Linked DNA regions of Homo sapiens: regions 1 and 2 are each linked to region 3. The links are contacts of gene promoters, found by promoter capture Hi-C in blood cells and fetal thymus (Javierre and others, 2016). All regions are on one chromosome and are shown on one strand. Each heading gives the region's core, a stretch centred on a gene start or on the middle of the fragment in contact. The rest is flanking DNA. Distances are from core to core; before and after follow the strand shown. Region 1 overlaps STAG1 (STAG1 cohesin complex component). Region 2 overlaps STAG1 (STAG1 cohesin complex component). Region 3 holds the start of SLC35G2 (solute carrier family 35 member G2).

Region 1 (3,515 bases), core at 916-3,415, 300 kb before region 3:
TGTGGTGATTCCCCAGTTATCTAGAACTAGAAATATCATTTGACCCAGCGATCCCATTACTGGCTATATACTCAAAGGATTATAAATCATGCTACTATAAAGACACATGCATACGTATATTTACTGCGACAATATTCACAATAGTAAAGACTTGGAACCAACCCAAATGTCCATCAATAATAGGCTGGATTAAGAAAATGTGGCACATATACACCATGGAATACTATGCAGCCATAAAAAAGGATGAGTTCACGTCCTTTGCAGGGGCATGGATGCAGCTGGAAACCATCATTCTCAGCAAACTATCACAAGGACAGAAAACCAAACACCGCATGTTCTCACTCATAGGTGGGAATTGAACACTGAGAACACTTGGACACAGGGTGGGGAACGTCACACACCAGGGCCTGTCGTGGGGTGGGGGCAGGGGGAGGGATAGCATTAGGAGAAATACCTAATGTAAATGATGAGCTAATGGAAGCAGCAAACCAACATGGCACATGTATACCTATGTAACAAACCTGCACATTGTGCACATGTACCCTAGAACTTAAAGTATAATTAAAAAAAAAATCACAACGTTGGGCTGGGCATGGTTGCTCAGGCCTGTAATCTCAGCGCTTTGGGAGGCCAAGGTGGGCGGACTGCCCGAGGTGAGGAGTTCGAGACTAGCCTGGCTAACATGATAAAACCCCGTCTCTCCCAAAAATACAAAAATTAGCTGGGTGTGGTAGTGCACGCCTGCAGTCCCAGCTACTCGGGAGGCTGAGGCAAGAGAATCACTTGAACTCAGGAGGGGGAGGTTGCAGGGAGCCAAGATTGTGCCACAGCACTCCAGCCTGGGTAACACAGTGAGACTCCATCTCAAAAACAACAACAACAAACAACATTAGACAATTACTAAGTGACTTATGTATGTTACATATTTAACAAAAATTATTTCATCTATATGACTCAGGAAACAAAAGATAAATTATTTCATTTAAGCTTCCCAATACTACCACGAGAAAGGATTATTAGTATCTATGCTATAAAGACGAAGAAAGGCACAGGAGTTACATAATTTGTCCAAAGTCACCAAGTTAATAAATTCAAGATATGTAATGCTTATAAAGTAATTTTTAAAATCCTTGTTTCTTTACAAAAACTGGCTGCCAAAAGAAAGCTAATTTTCAGAACCGATGATAGAACGTAAAAGACAATAATACTAAGAAAAAAGTTAGAAAATTTCAAGTTATTATAGACCTAAATATACAGATTCAAAAAAGTAATTACATTTTAAAGTTATACTTTATTTTATGGGTAAAACTACATGATATAGTGGTATTTGCAGATTTCACCAACTATTGGGCATTAATCCCACGAGAACATCAGAAGTCTGTTATATACAAACCCTAGAAAATTGAATAAAGATTTTATATCTGGAGGAGGGATGAAAAACACAACGGTGAAAAAGTAAAGTAAGACAAAGTAAAAGTACAAAGCAATGAAAAGGTCAAACTCTAGAAGAATTTTGAAAAATGAATATAAAAAAATAAAATGTAAATACAAAAAGGAAGAGCAATTATTTATACTACATGGTCTATTCTTTGATAATACCAGATTGCTCTAAAATTTTCACATCTTAACCATAGAAACCAGAAACAATCTGTGTGGTTAAAAATTATAAAATAATTATTGAATTTAATAAACAGAATATGGGTCCTGAGAGCCAAAAGATAAGTAAAATGAAAATGCAGGCTGGGTGTGGTTGTAATCCCAGCACTTTTAGAGGCCATGGTATGCAAACTGCTTGAATTCAGGAGTTCAAGGCCATGGGCAACATGGCGAAATCCCAACTCTACAAAAACTACAAAAAAATTAGCCGGATGTGGTGGCATGCACCTGTGGTCCCAGCTACTCGGGATGCTGAGGTGGAAGGATCGCTTGAGCCTGGGAAGCGGGGGTTGCAAGGAAACAAAACCATGCCACTGCACTGCAGCCTGGGCAACAGAGTGAGAATCAGAAAATAAACATACATTAAAAAAAAGCAAAAGAAAAGAAAATGCATGCTGTTCGTTTTCTTAACAGCGGTTCTTGAAAGTTTATCTACTTGTTTATTTATGATTTCCCCATCTGTCATGTCTTATTACTTTTTATTAAAATAGAACAAGCAAATCAATAAATTCTGAGTAAAACCATAAAGGAAGGGAAATATTGGCAAATACTATTATCCGTTTTTCTCATTAAAGAATAATAGAATAATAGCTGCAGCTTACTAAATGCCAAGCATTGTCCCAAGCACTCCTAATCTCTTTTCTTTCCCACTTTGCAAATAAAGAGAGTAAGACCAGTTATGTTAAGGACTTGTCCAAGGTTATCCAACTAGTAAAAGACAGAGACGAATATGAATTCAGACAGGCACGCCAGAACCCATTCTATCAACCACAGTATTACATGATTTCAGCAACTGAAGGCCAAATAAAAAGACTTCAATTTTCTGAGGCAAAATTATTTTCAGCCTCTGATCATAAATTAAAGCAATTTCATATGTCATTTCCTTCCTCAGAGGAAAAGTCTGGAGATGCTGATTCTATAAGAAAAGTTAATCAATAATGAATCATATGTGAATATAAAATCAACCATAAGGTATAAAGAAATGTTTATCCCTCAGGAGTCTGAGAGTGACTTATTGATAAGCACTGATGAAGACTGGCCTTGTGATGATCTTGACCACATTTTCTAATTTTTTCCCAAATTCATTTTAGGAGGGAAAAAAGAGAATAGAAACAATCTTCATGTCATTATTAGTACAAATTTTGTATTTTAACTCCCTTTTGTTCAAATTAGAACTTTAGAAGTCAGAGGCAGCCAGCATTAATATATTTATAACATCACAGAAAATTATGTAGGTGAGAAAATAACAAAATATTAAAACGTTAACCAACATTACTCAGCCTGAATGTTGCCCTCTAACAAAAATTTGAAGTCAACAAGTTGTAAAGTATTGGTATACATTTTAAAAGCAAATGTCTAAAAATAAACATAATCCTGAAAAGCAATTCTTTGAGAGTAAAATTTTAACTTCATAATACCAAACAAGAAAGTGGTAAAACAAAGAAAATCTTACCTATTTTTGAACTTAAAAGGAAAATATTCCCTCAAAAAATAAAAATGTCATCAAATTTGAAAATAAAAAAGTTCCCAGTCTCAGATTGTAAATCCACCAAAATAATTATGACACAATGTTTCTTACATAAATTAAATCCACAAACTGTACTACTATGTCCCACTGAGATAGCTATTTCAAATAAAAATAAGGGCACTTAGCTCTGAAGATCAATAGTTAATGAAAACTACAATGTAAAGCTTATTAAAATGGGCCAAATAACTAGGACAGTATGTTTGAAAATTCCAACGAAGGGATTAAAGAAAATATAAAATTTAATTGTTAACAGTCTCTTTCAATTTAATGGTAAAATATATTCTAAAAAGAGAGTTTACCTCCAATGGAAAAATAAGAATATACTTATGAG
Region 2 (3,573 bases), core at 124-2,623, 480 kb before region 3:
GTGGATTGCTTGAGCTCAGTTCATGACCGGCCTGGGCAACATGGTGAAAGCCTGTCTCTACTAAAAATACAAAACTTAGCTGGGCGTGGTGGTGGGTGCCTGTAATTCCAGCTACTTGAGAGCCTGAGGCAGGAGAATCTCTTGAACCCCAGAGGCGGAGGTTGCTGTGAGCTGAGATCACACCATTGTACTCCAGCCTGGGTGACAGACCGAGACCCTGTCTTCACTTACCGCCCCCCCCCCCCCCCCGAAAAAAAAAAGGCAAGCCTGAGTGGCATCAAACCTTTGTTTCCCATGAATATACTAGTCCCTGCTTGATGGACTGTTACCTGGGAACAGGGGCAAACAGGGAGTTACAGTCAAGCCACAAATGGGAGATTTGCAAGCCTGACCCAAGCCTGAAAGTGCTCATCTAGTCTCATACTCTTGTAACCATCTAGATGAGCTGTTACAGACCATCCTTAAATGACCTTCCTTCCTTGGCTGTCTGGAAAGCTTGCTTGCTGATTTGTCTCCCACACCTTTGCCTTTTTTGCATAGGCATATTAGGCCATTTAAGGAACTCACCCCCTATTGCCAGACCCATGAAGTGTGTAGGGTATGACTTCTTAAAGAAAGAGTGAGGAGGTCTAATGCCAAGAGAAACTTTTTAAGACAGTCTGGCTCTGTTACCTAGATTGGAGTGCAGTAGTGGTGCAATCTTGGCTCACTGCAACAACCTCCACCTTGTGGGCTCAAGCCATCCTCCTACCTTAGCCTCACGAGTAGCTGGTGTGCGCCATCATACGCAGCTAATTTTTGTATTTTTTGTAGAGGAGTTTTACCATGCTACCCAGGCTGGTCTCGAACTCTTGAGCTCAAGTGATCCACTCACCTTGGCCTTCCAAAGTGCTGGGATTACAGGCGTGAGCCACCATGCCTGGCTGAAAACTTCATTTCTGTAGCTGCATTGACTCTATGTGGTCTTCAAAAGGGCACTGCCAGGGTGCAATTATGCATGTAAGCCCAGAGTCTCAAGCCGTGAGGACCCATGCTACAGGCCAGTGGATGGGTGTTCCCTGAATGCCTCATGCAAAACTCAGTTTGCAAGAGACTCCCTCTTAAACCACAGATGACTTGGCCTACACACACTCCAGAGAAATCTAAGGAATGAAAGAAAGTGAGCTATTCCTAAATTCTGCTTTCTTAAAAAAAATTAAAAAGCCAAAACAACAAAACCACCAACTCACTAATAAGGTTAACTTGCTGCCATTTAACAGATTATCAGAAATTGCAAACTCTCTCAAGAGCCACAGGACAGAAAATCATCTCTTTAAAGCCATACCTGGTAGAAACAATAGGATGACTACCACAAGCCTGATTTTGAATAGTTTATTAAAGGAAAGGTGAAGCATCAGTTTCAAATTGTACAAAAGGAAAAAAAACCTCATATTGCAAATGTACAATTTACAGAATTACTAGCAAAACCAATCAAGGAGACACCGAAAATACAAAAATTTGATTGACTTCAAACTGAACTGGAAACCCATTGGAGTAGATATTTAGCCTTTTTGTGTGGCATGGTAGTCTACAATTCTGTCAGCATCTGTTTTCCATACAAGACTGTCACGCAAAGGATCAATTTGTGCATGTGCCAGGGCACCTCATGGCTTGCTCCCTGGCCAAAACCACAGGCAGGCAGGGCTGGGGTGGACAGTCCAGTCATTCCTGCACCTTCACTTCCAGTGAAGCCCACAATTCTGGGAGAAAGTGAGGCCCCAGCTCCCCTAACTGGAGCCCAAGAATTGCTGAATTAGCAGAGAAGATATTTTTGGTGACCAGGTTTTTTTCAGAACTGTACAAATGTTGAGAAAAATGTTTTGTGTCTTTACTAAAAGGATGAATAAAATCATCCATCATCATCTTGCTTTCCCGCACAAAAGATGATCACTGGGTGTGCAGAATTTTAAAAAATGTTTTTCGTATTTGATAAAAAGGGAAAGCCTCATGATTCTGTTGCAGCTACTTTAAAAACCAGCCCAGAAACAGCTGTGGATGAATTGGTTTGGAAATTCTGAGGCTTACTTTAGAAATCAGAAAGGAAGAGAGAGACTAAGTGGGGTTTTTAAAACAATAGCAGCAAGTCATAAAAGTCTAGGCAGAATGTAACTCTAAACCATTGTAGACTGTCCTGAAGATTCATAATTTCTTTCCCCAAAAGAATTATTCTTAATATGCACATTTAACACTGAAATGTAGCTGTAATTCAAGGTAAGCTTAGGAACTTCACCCTCTAAGCACAGACTTCTATGCAGCACATACTTCTATAATCAGTAAACTTAATTCACAAAATTAGCGCATAAGGGTATTAAGTGCATGGGAAGTAAACACAGTTATGTTACACTTAAAATTACTTTTGAATGATTGATAAAGGATTTCTTCATGATTGATTATCTTAAGAAAATGGAAGTCTGTGTAACTTGAATTTGGCAGGGCATGAAATAAGTGGTAAAAACAGCAAACTGATAACTTGAGAATCATTTTCGTTTTACTGAGAATACTTTATTTGCTGGTAGAAGTTGCTAAAAATGCACAGAACAAATACCAATAGAAAATGCACTGTATTTGAATCTCCCTAGTCTATATAAAATGAACGGTGTACAGCATCTGTTGGAAAAATGGCTGCATGGACATTTCTTATTTTATGCCCACTTATAAATAAAAATAAACCTTTTATTCAAGAGTATATAAAATCTGGGAATTCATATCCATATCCACAGAGGGTGTGTGGTTTTTGGCAGAGATGTACTATGTCAGAATTTCATCTTAGCTTGTCAATGTTCTGCTCCTTCATTATTTGTGTTCCACAAAGGTCAACCAAATCCAGTGAACTCCAAAACACTCTTCGCAATTAGGATGAGCTGCTTACTCATAGGTTTAATAAAAATGGTTAGCTTTTAAAACATAAAAAGGCAAAATGTTAAAACGGTTTTTAAATTGTACAACAGGAAAATAAAGTTAAAAATATGTTTTTTTTTACTCAATGTTGAGTTTTCATAAAACAGGTGTATAACAGTGTTTATCTTGACAGCTGTTTTAAAAATTTAAAATTTCTTCCTCCCTCCAGAAAAACACACACATCTGTATTGGGATAAGTCCAATAGTAGGACACAAATGATTTTCAGGTCAGTCTTTCTGAGTTGACATTCACCAACATTCCCTTGGGTAATTTACATGCTCCTCTTCTGTCACTGCAAAAAGGGATTGACCTTAATCATTTGATTAAAAAACAAATCAGATCACATCAAAAGTGTTTTTCCCCATACAAGCTATCACAGTATATAGGCCTCTAGCTCTAAATAATAGAGTTCCAGATTTGTAAATTTTCTTCAGACTTCAGAACATAGGCATTCCAAATCCCTAGAAAAATGATGAGAAACATAATTATTAATTTCATGCATAAACAGGACCCAGGAACCATAAATAAAAAGCAGTAATAATTTGACATTTACTGAATCATCTTCTATGATAGCTGCAGAGTCAAAGAAGTCTGGCCTTAGCTCAGCTCTCTCTCGCCGATTTCTTGATGGAGGC
Region 3 (3,270 bases), core at 109-2,608:
TGCTCTATAAAGATCTAGATTGTCTCTCTACCTCAAGAGGAATCCAAAATCCTGTTATGCTGGACTCTGAAATGATCCCCAGCCCTTTGGTGATCACACTGTTTATGAGCAGTCTGAATTCCATTCTTGGGTCTACCTAAACTAGCACCCTCGGGCTATGGGGCCCAGTGGGGAGACCACCTAGCATGCTGGCTGCCTGGAGCCCAGGGAACTGTCAAGATGGCTCTGGAAGACTTCTCGCCTTTTAAAAGCCCCGTATTTCTTTTACATATATTTTTGTCCTCATGAATTTTGCCAACCGCAATGGACTAAAATCTATTATAGCGTCCTGGAAAGGTGGGGAAAAGATGGGATAGTTGAGGAGAGTTTAATGAAGGGACTATTTAAAAAGGTGTGGATGGGGTTAAAGGAAACCTCTGGGCGTCATTACCCACTCCAGGCCTGAAGGGGCAAGGGTAGTTAGTGGTAACCAGAACCTGGAGAAAACTGCAGGAGAGGGCCACAGGATGGGAGTAATGGCTTTCAGATGAAGAACATAGCCACTGCTAACAGGGTGGCCCGCTGGGGATGCAGGGGAGGTCCTGAATCACATCCTGCCTTCTGATCTGCAGGTGCCTCCCACTTGCCAAAACCAATTGAAAGCCAGATTATAGTTGACGTAGCCCATAAAGGTCAGTCCTGAGTCACAGAGCAGAGTGGAGAGTGGGTCTGAAGGGACAGAGGAAAAACCAGCAAGCACCTCCTGTTTTTTCCCACAGCCAGCACCTTGGTTCAGCCCTTACCCTTTCTTGCCTGTCCCCTGGACCCATCAAATCCACTGCTTTTAATGACCAGTCTGTTTCCAAGAGGCTATATTCATTCCACTTGGGACTGGGGCATATGCACTTGGGTAGAAGAACCAGCTGTGCAGTGTCAAGACCCTTCCCTCAGAGACCTTATCAGTAAAATGGCGGGTGGACTCGGGGATGCCCGAAGACTTTTCCGGACCACGATTTTCCGATGCTGGACACATATTTAAACATGAAGGAATAGACTTGCGACTTTTAAGCGCAAACAATGGGTGGAAATGGACAGAAACTGCCTCCGTGCCCACTTGCAGCGGACTACGTAGCCCTGGCAGACAGGCAATTGCTTCAAACAAGCGCCCTCCAAGGGCGTAAGCTAGAGGGGCCCGGGCGGGCGCTTTCCCGTGGACCCTCCCACCTCGCGGGTAGAGGAAGTCCTTCAGTTCAGGCACAACCCTGAGCGTCCCCCGCAGTCTCCAACTCCGGCGCCAGTCAGGTTGTGGGGTGGGGGCGGCGGAGGGCGGAGAGCGCAGGCGCAGAGTCCGCGCGGCGGCGCCCCTCTCCCTCCGCAGTACTCCGGGCAGCGCCCGCCTCGATTTTCCCAGGCGAGGGCACGCCCGCGTCAGTCGCCTCCGGGGCACCTTCCTCGCCACGACACGCAGGTAACCGGGCCCCGGGAGCCGGTCGGCGGCGGCGGACTGGGACCTTGATCCTGCCTGCCCGGCCGCCCGACAAGGGAATGAGAGCGGACCCCGAACTCCACACACCCGCGTTTAGCCGCCACACCTAAGGGGCACAACAGTCTTTTTGGGTAAGGGCCGGGCTGGGGGCGACGCGCCCCGCCCGCTTTGCAGACTTCGGGGTGCTCTGCACGACGCCTGAAAGGCCGCGGGGCCCGCATTTCTCTGTGCTGCCCTCCTGGAGAACCGGGACACGGGGACGGGAGGGCCAGCATCGGCTACGGCCCGGTTTCCCGTTTCTTTCCGCTGTCGCGTGTCTGGGCCCTCCTGCAGCGTCCATGATGAAGGCCAGGGGCTGTTGCTTTCCTCTCGCCCAGTAGCCAACCCAAGCAAGGGGTGAGTCACTGTGGCGTCATATGGGATCAATTTCAAATACAAGTTTTAAAAAAGGCTGGATGATTTTAGAAATATGGCCAAGAATTTGTATTTTCCATTACTCTCTTGTCTCATGTCCATGACTCTTGAACGCCAGTCTGTGGGCGCTGAGATTTTCGTGGTACATCGACGGTTTGTAGACATCTTTTCCCAAGGGAAGACGAGGGCAAGGGTTAGTGGAGGAAGGGCCTCGTCACGGCCGAGAGTGGCGGAGAAGGCTCAGGGCAAGTCCGCACAGCCTCCAGCAGCCACGGGGAGGAAAAGGCGAATCTTTCCTCACAGTGCTCTGGGCGCTGTAGAATTTCTACGCCACGTGCACCCATTTGGCCTCATTTGAGAGGAGGAGAGGGAAGAAGGGTCGCGCGGGCCGGCAGGAAAGAGACTCGTGTTGCGGCGGATGAAGGCTCAGCGCGGACCTGCATCTCGGGCCAGGTTTTCTTTCACCCGGCTCCGCGAGGAGCGAGGCGGAAAGCTCGGGTCCGAGTGTTGATCGAGGACCTGGAGATAGTAACCCCCCACGTCCAGAGTGCTGGGGGTGGGTCCAGAGGGCTGGGGGTAGGTCCAGAGGGCTGGGGGTAGCTCCGGAGGAGCGATCTTCCTCCGCGGGAAAGGACTTGGCTCAGGCTTGCCTATGTCCGTGGTGCTGAAGTGCCTCGCGCGCCCTCGTCGACTGACTTCCTGGGCCGCGGCCTGCGTTGCCCTTCTACTCTGCACCTTTGCCAAAAATAGCCCATCTCCATGGCTGGTGGCCAGAGTGGAGCAGGCCCAACACTGAAACTCTTTTCAGACAAGTTGAGGCTGGTTTCCTGAACATAACCCGAAAGCAAATGTGGCTTGCCTTGGAGGTACAGATAAGCATATGCATAACAGATTTTATTACCTATGAGAAAGTACACACCATGAGCGTAAACAGGAATTCTCACATATACTTATGAAAGATACAGGTATGTGCATTTACGCACAAACCTAACACACATGCAAATACACTCATCCCTTTTGAAAACCATTACACACTACAAGCCACACATTTTTTAGAGCTTTTGTAATCCATCTTTATTTTTTGACACTTCTAGTAAATGTGAACTCTGCAGAGCCATTTATTTTCATAATCATCTGTTCCAAAGGCACAGAGCCTGTGGATTGAAGTGTTTGGTATTTGGCTGAGCAATTAAGTATTTATACTCATTTACATTCCAGAACAAAAGTCTAGGAAGATGTAAAATTGATATTGATACCAAAAAAATTCCTTAAAGAAAGCTTAAGGAAAATGAATTAATGTAAATTTTAATAAGAACAACATATAAATAATCATAGAAATTTATAATCTTAACATATGACTAAAATGTATCATAATGCAGACAATTTTAAAT

The links. Contacts are between HindIII fragments. The CHiCAGO score rates a contact against its expected background, and 5 or more counts as called.
Region 1: a fragment that was not itself captured here is called in contact with the fragment with the promoter of SLC35G2 in region 3 in 1 of 17 cell types (monocytes); the score reaches 5.2 in monocytes.
Region 2: a fragment that was not itself captured here is called in contact with the fragment with the promoter of SLC35G2 in region 3 in 3 of 17 cell types (neutrophils, naive B cells and M1 macrophages); the score reaches 7.1 in neutrophils.

The regions. Positions count from the first base shown.
Region 1 is chr3:136,514,499-136,518,013 of GRCh38, forward strand. The region is part of intron 7 of STAG1 (STAG1 cohesin complex component); the gene reads right to left. Among named protein-coding and RNA genes, the nearest start is that of STAG1, 240 kb to the right of the region's middle. The HindIII fragment of the contact is 2,361 bases long and covers 986-3,346 here.
Region 2 is chr3:136,334,879-136,338,451 of GRCh38, forward strand. STAG1 (STAG1 cohesin complex component) reads right to left here. Exons shown (of 34, transcript NM_005862.3): 33 at 3,492-3,572; 34 at 1,358-3,399. The coding sequence ends at 3,376. Among named protein-coding and RNA genes, the nearest start is that of PCCB, 86 kb to the left of the region's middle. The HindIII fragment of the contact is 1,760 bases long and covers 494-2,253 here.
Region 3 is chr3:136,817,768-136,821,037 of GRCh38, forward strand. SLC35G2 (solute carrier family 35 member G2) reads left to right here and starts at 1,359. Exons shown (of 2, transcript NM_025246.3): 1 at 1,359-1,861. RefSeq lists silencers at 1,384-1,443, 2,507-2,556. The HindIII fragment of the contact is 16,057 bases long and covers 1-3,155 here.